Linked DNA regions of Homo sapiens: region 2 is linked to region 1. The links are contacts of gene promoters, found by promoter capture Hi-C in blood cells and fetal thymus (Javierre and others, 2016). All regions are on one chromosome and are shown on one strand. Each heading gives the region's core, a stretch centred on a gene start or on the middle of the fragment in contact. The rest is flanking DNA. Distances are from core to core; before and after follow the strand shown.

Evidence for each region. Contacts are between HindIII fragments. The CHiCAGO score rates a contact against its expected background, and 5 or more counts as called.
Region 2: a fragment that was not itself captured here is called in contact with the fragment with the promoter of TMED4 in region 1 in 11 of 17 cell types (monocytes, total CD8 T cells, erythroblasts and 8 more); the score reaches 10.3 in monocytes.

The regions. Positions count from the first base shown.
Region 1 is chr7:44,579,300-44,584,253 of GRCh38, forward strand. TMED4 (transmembrane p24 trafficking protein 4) reads right to left here and starts at 2,932. Exons shown (of 5, transcript NM_182547.4): 1 at 2,748-2,932; 2 at 2,424-2,524; 3 at 2,150-2,275; 4 at 1,794-1,940; 5 at 1-329. The coding sequence starts at 2,907. The coding sequence ends at 180. RefSeq lists silencers at 2,556-2,655, 3,056-3,215 and an enhancer at 3,306-3,415. The HindIII fragment of the contact is 9,471 bases long and covers 1-4,954 here.
Region 2 is chr7:44,836,718-44,841,671 of GRCh38, forward strand. It overlaps H2AZ2 (H2A.Z variant histone 2), which reads right to left. Exons shown (of 5, transcript NM_012412.5): 3 at 4,182-4,295. Among named protein-coding and RNA genes, the nearest start is that of H2AZ2, 8.9 kb to the right of the region's middle. The HindIII fragment of the contact is 6,713 bases long and covers 1-4,954 here.

The sequences.
Region 1 (4,954 bases), core at 1,682-4,181:
TGTCATGTGTCCTTAAGAACCAGGGTCAGCAAGTGGCTGATCTGAATGGTTTGTGGCCATGGAACCAATGTGACTTATTCTTTTTCATTTTTTTCCCTAAAAATCCAGGTGGATAAAGGACTGTGTGGGGAAAGTACCAAATAAATGAGGTAAAAAGGAAGGGTCATACAAAGAGGGCACTACACCAGCTTCTTGGCCTCAAAGAAGCTCTTGAGGTGACGCATCTGCCAGATGCCAGTGAGGATGAGGATGACAGTCTGAGCAATGGACCACCATAGGACCCTCTGGTTGGTGCTCTCGCTCGTCAGTCGGAAGCGCTCTTCACGATACTGTGTGGGGCAACACAGGGTTAAGTGAGCAGGAGAAACAGTCTGGCTGTTGTGAGGTCCCTCCCTGCGTGTAATTACTCAACTCCAGGACCAAACTCCTTTTGGAATACTATCTGTGACTCCATTAGGAGTGCTATGGTCTCCCCACTGAGGCTGCCCCAAGAAAGGGACAGGCTGTCCCTCCACAAGCATCTCTGTTAGGACTGAAATCATGATCCTACCATTTCCAACAAGAGTCCAAGAAAAACAGGTAGGCAATGGCTATTACTAGATTGTGAACTGTCCTTTCTTCATTTTATTTTATAGAGCTTAAAAATGACTACTGAAAGCGAAATGTGGCACATGCATACAATGGAATATTAGCCTTAAGAAATTCTGACACATGCTATAACATGGATGAACTGTGAGAACATTATACTCAGTGAAATAAGCCAGTCACAAAAGGACAAATACTGAATGATTCCACTTATATGAGATAGGGTAGTCAGGATCATAGAGACAGAAAGTAGAATGGTGGGTGTCAGGACAAAAGGAAACGGGAAGTTATTGTTTATAATAAGTACAGATTTGCTGGGTGCAGTGGCTCACGCCTGTAATCCCAACACTTTGGGAGGCTGCGGCAGTGGATTGCCTGAGGCCAGGAGTTCAAGACCAGCCTGGCCAACATGGTGAAACCCAGTCTCTACTAAAAACACAAAAATGAGCCACGCATGGTGGCACTTGCCTGTAATCCCAGCTACTTGGGAGGCTGAGGCAGGAGAATCGCTTGAACCTGGGAGGCGGAGGGTGCAGTGAGCCGAGATGGCGCCACTGCGCTCCAGCCTGGGCAACAGAGCGAGACTCCATCTCAAAAACAAAACAAAATAAGTACAGATTTTTAGTTTGAGAAGATGAAAAAGTTCTGGAGCTGGATGATGGTGTTGGTAGCACAACATTATGAAGGCACTTAATACCACTGAACTATATAGACAGTTAAAATGACACATTTGGTGTTATATTTTACCACAATAAAATGTTTTGATAAAAAAGCAAAACAGGCAGGGCGCGGTAGCTCACACCTGTAATCCCAGCACTTTGGGAGGCTGAGGCGGGCGGATCACTTGATGTCGGGAGTTCGAGACCAGCCTGACCAACGTGGAGAAACCCCCGTCTCTACTAAAAGTACAAAATTAGCCAGGCATGGTGGCGCATGCCTGTAATCCCAGCTACTCAGGAGGCTGAGGCAGGAGAATCGCTTGAACCTGGGGAGGCGGAGGTTGCAGTGAGCCAAGATCATGGCATTGCACTCCAGCATGGGCAACAAGAGTGAAACTCCGTCTCAAAAACAACAAACAAACAACCTATCTAAACCAATACTTCTCATTCCATTCTCTGCAGAGCTGATCTCCCAAGCAGAAACTTGAGTAGGTATAGTGGGTATAAAGGTCAACTGCCCTCTCAAATTACAAGGAGATATGCACTTGCCCTTTGGTAATCCTGCTCCTTCTGAATCTGTTCCACCTGATCAAGCAACTGGCGGGCGCGGAGCTGTAGCTCCGTCAGCTTATCTTTTGCAGCAATCTCAGGGTAGTTGTTGGCATGCTCCCCAACCTGGATGTCGAGATGCACCCGCTACAAGGAAACATGGAATGTATGAGTGGTGGGGCCTCCAGTTGTCTGTTCCAGGGTATGGAACCCACTATTGTCCCTGGCTGTGGAGCAGAAGGCAACATCTGTCTCCCCAATTCTGACTGTGCTACAAAGTTTCACAATCTTGATAAATCAAAATTTGGAAACAAGTGAGAGATTCTAAGCTGAAGCCAAAGAGAAAATCCTCTTACCAGTTTGCCACCAGCGAAGAGAGCCATCCTGGTAGAATTGGAGTGCAGACAGATTTGATGGTCACCGGGCGTGTGGGAGGTGAACGTGAAGCGGCCCTCCGAGCCGTACTGCCGGGACAGCACCACCTGCAACATATGTGAGTGAAGGCCCCACCTTTATACCGCAGGCTCTCCAAGTGCAAGTTCCTGTCCCTTGAGGCCTCCTCCAGGCAGTGCTTTACACCCCACGGGAGCTCCACTGAAGAACGGCTGCGTGGGCCAACGCCAGCCTTACCTTGCCGTCGGGGTCCTTCACTTCCACGTGCATGCCCAGGCCAGGGGTCGAGGGCAGGAAGACCTCCTTCTGCTTATCCCACATCTGGGTACGATAGTTGCCTGCGGGGCAGACACATAGTCACGACCGGCCCTAGTGGGCCGCCTCTCCGCCCGGCCCCCTCCGACGTGCGGCCCGGAGCTCTAGGCAGGGGGCCTGGCGTCCTCGGGGCACCCTCAGGCTAGGTACTGGGGGAGCCAGCGACCCGGCTGGGCTCGGGAGGAGGGAGCGCCGCCGAGGGCTGAGCTGGGTACAAAGGGCCTCCCCACCCTCAGCCCGCCTGACCGATGACCATGGTCTCGTCGGGGATTTCCTCGATGAAACAGCGCTTCTCGGTCTCGCCGATGTGGAAGTAGAGCCCCTGGGCGCCTGTGGCGCACAGCGCGAGAAGCAGCAGGGCCTGCCGCCCCATCGCCCGCAGAGGCCCAGCCCCGACACCTGCCATCGCGCCTCAGCCCCTAAGCGCCTGCGCACATTTGCGCATCGCTCTGCGCCTGCGCGCCACCCTAGCGACCCTGAGAGTTAGGGGAAGAGGACGCCTGCGCAGTGATATGTACTCGCCGTCTCCTGCAACTCCATCCGTACCGAACACTGCCGCGCCCCGCCCCCTCACACAGCCCGGCGCCCGCCTACCCCCGCAACGAGAGTAGAGGGCGCATGCGCAATGACGTTCGCCCTTAATTTCTCGCCCCTTACCCCGCAGCTTACCTCCGGCATCTCGCAGGGGAGGCACGCCTGCGCAGTCACGCCCGCCCTCGGCCCCAGTCAGCGATTTGGGTCTCGGAGCACCAAGGAGACGGTGGACGGAATCTGACCAGGCTTGGTGGCTACGATGGCCTGAAGCGTGCCTTTTGGGTTCTCAGCTCGGGCTCACAAGTGTTTTCTGTGCTAAATACAAAAAGCCCTGTGATGTTTTGCTTTGCGTGTCCACCTATCTGACTCGTAAGAACCGAGGCTGAATCCAGACCCACACTCTGTCACGTCGGGAGAGCCTGCCGCGGCGAGCCTCTGCGAGCGGGCATTTCTTGGGTGGGGACCAAAAGCCCAGTGCTGCCATAGTTTCGGATCATTCTTTTAAGAAGCTGGGGCCGGGCGCGGTGGCTGGCACCTGTAATCCCAGCACTCTGGGAGGCTGAGGCGGGCGGATCCCTTGAGCCCAGGAGTTCGGGACCAGCCTGGGCAACATGGTGAAACCCCCGTCTCTACAAAAAATTAACCGGTGTGGTGGTGTGCGCATGTAGTCCCAGCTACTTGGGAGGCTGAGGCAGGAGAATCGCTTGAACCCAGGAGGTCGAGGATGCATTAAGCAGTGATCGCGCTCCAGCCTGGGCGACCGAGGGTGATACCTTGTCTTAAAAAAAAGGTGGGAGAGTGGAACGAAAACTTGGAATAAGTAGGGTCATGGAGCTTGTTTACATCCCCTAGTTACAGCACATCCTTTTGAAAGTGAAAAACAAACTGGAATGTTACTTAGTGGGCATGGAATCGAAGCAACGGAAGGTTAAAACTGTTTTTATCAAGGCCAGGCGGGCGCGGTGGCTCACGCCTGTAATGCTAACACTTTGGGCGGCCAAGGCTGGTGGATCATCTGAGGTTAGAAATTCGAGACCAGTTGGGCCAACAAGGTGAAACCCCCGTCTCTACTAAAAATACATTTTATCAACAGAATTTCGAAACTTTTATATAATAGAATAATTACAATGAACTTTCATAAAGAACTTGAGCATACCTGGATTTTGGTATCCGTAGGGGTCCAGGAATTATCCCCCTTGGATAATAACGGAGGGCTGTACTCATCATCCAACTTCAACAACAGTTTGCTGCCTTTCTCATTTCATGTATCCCTTTCTGCATTTTTTTTTGAAGTGCTGTATATTAAAGCAAATCCTGGACATCATGTCATTTCACCTATAAATACGTCAGTGTGTGTCTCTAACAGATAAGGACTTTATACTATTATCACACCCACCAAAATTTTAAAAATTATTTAACATCACTTAATACCTAGTATGTGTTTAATTTTCCCCATTGCCTTAAAAAATTTTGTACATTAGATATTTAGGGTCCAAACAAGGTTTACTTACTGCATTTCATACAAATATATGTCTCTTAATATATAACAATTTTGGCTGGGCACAGTGGCTCATGCCTGTAATCCCAGCACTTTGGGAGGCTGAGGTGGAAGGATCACTTGAGGTCAGGAGTTTGAGACCAGCCTGGCCAACATGGTGAAACCCTGTTTCTACTAAAAATACAAAAATTAGCCAGGTGTGGTGGTGCACACCTGTAATCTCAGCTACTTGGGAGGCTGAGGCAGGAGAATTGCTAGAATCAGGGAGGTGGAGGTTGCAGTGGGCTGAGATGATGCCACTGTACTCCAGCCTAGGCAACAGAGTGAGATTCTATCTCAAAACAAACAAAAACAGGGCCGGGCGCAGTGGCTCACACCTGTAATCCCAGCACTTTGGGAGGCCAAGGTGGGCAGATCACGA
Region 2 (4,954 bases), core at 771-3,270, 260 kb after region 1:
TAGGCGCGGTGGCTCACACCTGTAATCCCAGCAATTTGGGAGGCCGAGAGGGGTGGATCATGAGGTCAGGAGATCGAGACCATCCTGGCTAACACGGTGAAACCCTGTCTCTACTAAAAATACAAAAAATTAGCTGGGTGTGGTGGCAGGCACCTGTAGTCCCAGCTACTCGGGAGGGTGAGGCAGGAGAATGGCGTGAACCCAGGAAGCGGAGCTTGCAGTGAGCCGAGATGGCGCCACTGCACTCCAGCCTGGACGACAGAGCGAGACTCTGTCTCGAAAAGAAAAACAAAAACAAAAACAAAAAACAAAACAACAAAAAAAACAGACACAGGGTTTCACCATATTGGCCAGGCTGGTCTCAAATTCCTGACCTTGACTCCGTCTCAAAAAAAATAAAAAAATCAAACTCCTGACCTTGTGATCTGCCCGCCTTGGCCTCCCAAAGTGTTGGGATTACAGACGTGAACCACTACGCCAGGCCACCTCCTCGTTTTAAATAGAGCAGTGTTGGGTATACAGGAGAATCAACTGCTGAACTTTAAAAATACAAAAATCAGCAAGGTGTGGTGGCACACGCCTGTAATCCCAGCTACTTGGGAGGCTGAGGCAGGAGAATCGGTTGAACCCAGGAGGTGGAGGTTGCAGTGAGCCGAGATTGAGCCACTGAACTCCAGCCTGGGCGACAGAGCAAGACTCTCAAAAAAAAAAAAAAGAAAAAAAAAAAAAAAAAAAAAGTTGACTGCACCCACACATTCATTGTCCAATCTTAACCTAAATTGTTTTTTTTTTTTGAGACATGGTCTCACTGTCATGCAGGCTGGAGTGCAGTGGTGCAATCATGGCTCACTGCAGCCTCAACCTCCTGGGTCAGGTAATCATCCCACCTCACCCTCTCCACTAGCTGGGACTACAGGTGCACACTATCACATCTGGTCAATTTTTTGTATTTTTTTGTAGAGACAGGGTTTTGCCATGTTGTCCAGGCTGGTCTGGAAGTCCTGGACTCAAATGATCTGCCCACATTGACCTCCCAAAGTGCTGAGATTACAGGCATGAGCCACTGTGTAAACTTTAAAAATTTTAACCAAAGTTCCCAAAGATTTAAAAAAAAGGGGGGGGGGGCTTAGATAGATGGGGCTTGAACCTTGTGAACCACAATGTTCAATGTAAGACACCACACCCAGCCAAAGTCATATATTTTAATATATCTATGTGGTCTATTTCTGCAGAACCTTTAATAGCTGAAATTTCTTTTTTTTTCTTTTTTTTAAGACGGAGTCTCGTTCTGTCGCCAGGCTGGAGTGCAGTGGCGCGATCTCGGCTCGCTGCAACCTCTGCCTTCTGGGTTCAAGCAATTCTCCTGCCTCAGCCTCCTGAGTAGCTGGGACTATACACAGACACACGCCACCATGCCCAGCTAATTTTTGTATCTTTAGTAGAGATAGGGTTTCACTATGTTGGCCAGAATGGTCTCGATCTCTTGACCTCGTGATCTGCCCACCTCAGCCTCCCAAAGTGCTGGGATTACAGGCGTAAGCCACCGTGCCCAGCCGTGAAATTTATTTCTTAATGCTTATAGAAAAGTTTTAAAATGTATTTTAATTAAAATTTAAAAATTTTTAAAAATAAAAGAGGCCAGGTGGCCTCTTTTAATAAAAGGTGGCTCATGTCTGTAATCCCAGCACTTTGGGAGGCTGGGGCGGACAGATCATTTGAGGTCAGGAGTTCGAGATCAGCCTGGCCAACATGGCAAAACCTTGTCTCTACAAGAAAATAACAAAAATTAGCCAGGTGTGGTGATGCACACCGGTAGCCCCAGCTACTCCGGAGGCTGAGGTGGGAGAATTACTGGAACCCAGAAGGCAGAGGTTGCAATGAGCAGAGATCATGTCCCTGCCTTCCAGCCTGGGAGACAGAGAGAGATCCTGTCTCAAAACAAACACACAAGAAAAACCCCAAAAACAAAACACCCCTTGATCATGACACAGAGAAGCTGAAACTATCCATAACATCCATAATTCGATGTTAAATCCCCAGTGGGACACAGATGACTTGGTGAGACTAATGAAATAAATGACAGCAATGATAACTGACATACAGATTAAAAGCTAAATTCCTCAGCCTAGCTCCCAATCACATCTCCCCAAGTAAGACCCTTCTGTTTCCACCAGAATGAATGCGTCTACACTTGACCTACTTGTTACTCAAATTACTTCCCCAATCTGGAATGTAGCTGAAGTTTTATGACTTCCCAACGGATTTTTTTAAAGGAGGAATAGGGATGGGGAAAGTGGTGGTCTGTGACCCAAGAACTCTTGCCCAATTAACTTGTCTTCCTGAAATTTCAAACTGAGTAATATACAGCAATTTTGTATGTATAACCCTGCAGAGAACCAGGACAGACTGAGTCTTTTACTTCTATTATCATATTTGTGATTTTTATATATCATCACACTGGCCAAACTTTACATCATCCCAAATCTTCATAAACTACAACATTATGCTCTAACTTCACAAATACTGTCTACTGATTACATACATACTTCAAAGTTCACTGGGGTATGGTGGTTTATGTCTGTAATCCCAGCAACTTGGGAGGACCACTTGAGGCTAGGAGTTAGAAACCAGCCTGGGTAACATAGGGAGCCCTGTCTCCACAAAAAAATAAAAAATAGGCTGGGCGCGGTGGCTCACGCCTGTAATCCCAGCACTTTGGGAGGTGGAGGTGGGTGGCTCACGAGGTCAGGAGATCGAGACCATCCTGGCTACCACGGTGAAACCCCGTCTCTACTAAAAATACAAAAAAAAAAAATTAGCCGGGCGTGGTGGCGGGTGCCTGTAGTCCCAGCTACTCGGGAGGCTGAGGTGGGAGAATGGCGTGAATCCGGGAGGCGGAGGTTGCAGTGAGCCGAGACTGCACCACTGCACTCCAGCCTGGGTGACAGAGCGAGCCTCTGTCTCAAAAAAAAATAAATAAATAAAATAAAAATAAAAAATTAGCACCCAGCGCAGTGGCTCACACCTGTAGTCCCAGCACTTTGGGAGGCTGAGGCAAGTGGATCACCTGAGGTCAGGAATTTGAGACTGACCTGGCCAACATGGTGAAACCCAGTCTCCTCTAAAAATACAAAAATTAGCCGGGTGTAGTGGCGGGTGCCTGTAATCCCAGTTACTGGGGAGGCTGAGGCAGGAGAATTGCTTGAACCCAAGAAGTGGAGGTTGCAGTGAGCCAAGATTGTGCCATTGCACTCCACCTGGGATACAGAGCAAGACCCTGTCTCAAAATAAATAAATAAATAAATAAATAAATAAATAAATAAATAATTAGCCAGGTGTGGTGGCACACACCTGAAGTCACAGCTACTAGGGAGGCTGAGGCAGGAGGATCCTTTGAACCCAGGAGGTTTGAGGTTGGAGTGAGCTATGATCATGCCACTATACTCCAGCCTAGGTGACAGAGTGAGACCCAGTCTCAAAATAAAAAAATAAAAATAAAAGATAAGAGATTGCTGGCCCTTGCTTAACTTTTAAAAATTTTTTTACTTTGAGATAGGGTCTTGCTCTGTCACCCAGCCTAGTCTGGAACTCCAGGACTCAAGTGTACAATCTACCCACCTCAGCCGCCCAAAGTGTTGGCATTACAGGCGTGAATCACTGTGCCCAGCCCCTTGCTTAGCTTTAAAAACAAGTACACCAAGGTTCTTTTACATTGGCATTGGGTAATAGCTGACAAGATGCATCTCAAACTGCTATTAAAGAAACCAATGAGGCCGGACGTGGTGGCTCAAGCCTGTAATCTCAGCACTTTGGGAGGCTGAGGCAGGTAGATCACCTGAGGTCAGGAGTTTGAGACCAGTGTGGCCAACATGGTGAAACTCTGTCTCTACTAAAAATACAAAAATTAGCTGGGCACAGTGGTGCACACCTGTAGTCCCAGCTACTTGGGAGGCTGAGGTGGGAGAATCGCTTGAATCCGGGAGGCAGAGGTTGCAGTGAGCCGAGACTGGCCATTGCACTCCAGCCTGGGAAACAAGAGTGAAACTCTGTCTCCAAACAAACAAACAAAAAAGCCCCAGTGAGCATAATATGTCTTTTTTCAAATATATTCCATGGGTTTCTGTCACTGAGACTAGTGCACCTTCTGGATGGCCATATACAACAGACATTCCTGTACAAACCTCTGCAGTGAGGTACTCCAGAATCGCAGCACTGTACACGGCAGCAGTGGCACCCACCCTTCCATGGCTTGTGGTGCGAGTCTTCAAGTGTCTGTGGATGCGGCCCACAGGAAACTAAAAGAGAGATGTCTTAGTGGGAAGCACTGCAGAGTCTTAACATTGCACTGACTGTAATCAAAGGCTGAACAATGTAAGCATGAAATAATAAAAAACTTGATCACACATATCAGAAGCCAAACCTATTACGCATCAATAGTTCCCAGGGCCTGTGTCTCTGTTCTGGTAATCTGTCCAAAATCTTTAACCTCTGCATAATATGGGAAATATCACTCTAAAATGAAGAAATACCACGCTGGGCTGTCATCAACTGTACGTTCAACATGACCCATGGATCAAATTCCTATCTAGTTAATTTCTTCACATAATAGCCACATGCAACTTTGAACCTCCAATACCTTCCTCAGATCTTAAATGTTCTTTCTTCAGTTTCAAGAGGTGATCTGATAGTTAAGAAAAATCAATACTATTATCTCATTGTGGTTCTTTCTACTTTCTGAAAAAGAGGGTATTTTTCTCATTTCAAAGTATCCTGATCCCACTTGTCTGTGCCCTTTATTATTTTTTTTATTGAGACAGAGTCTCACTCTGTCACCCAGGCTGGAGTGCAGTGGCGCCATCTTGGCTCACTGCAACCTCCGCCTCCCGGGTTCAGGCGATTCTCCTGCCTCAGCCTCCTGAGTAGGTGGGATTATAGGCGCGCCAGGACGCCTGGC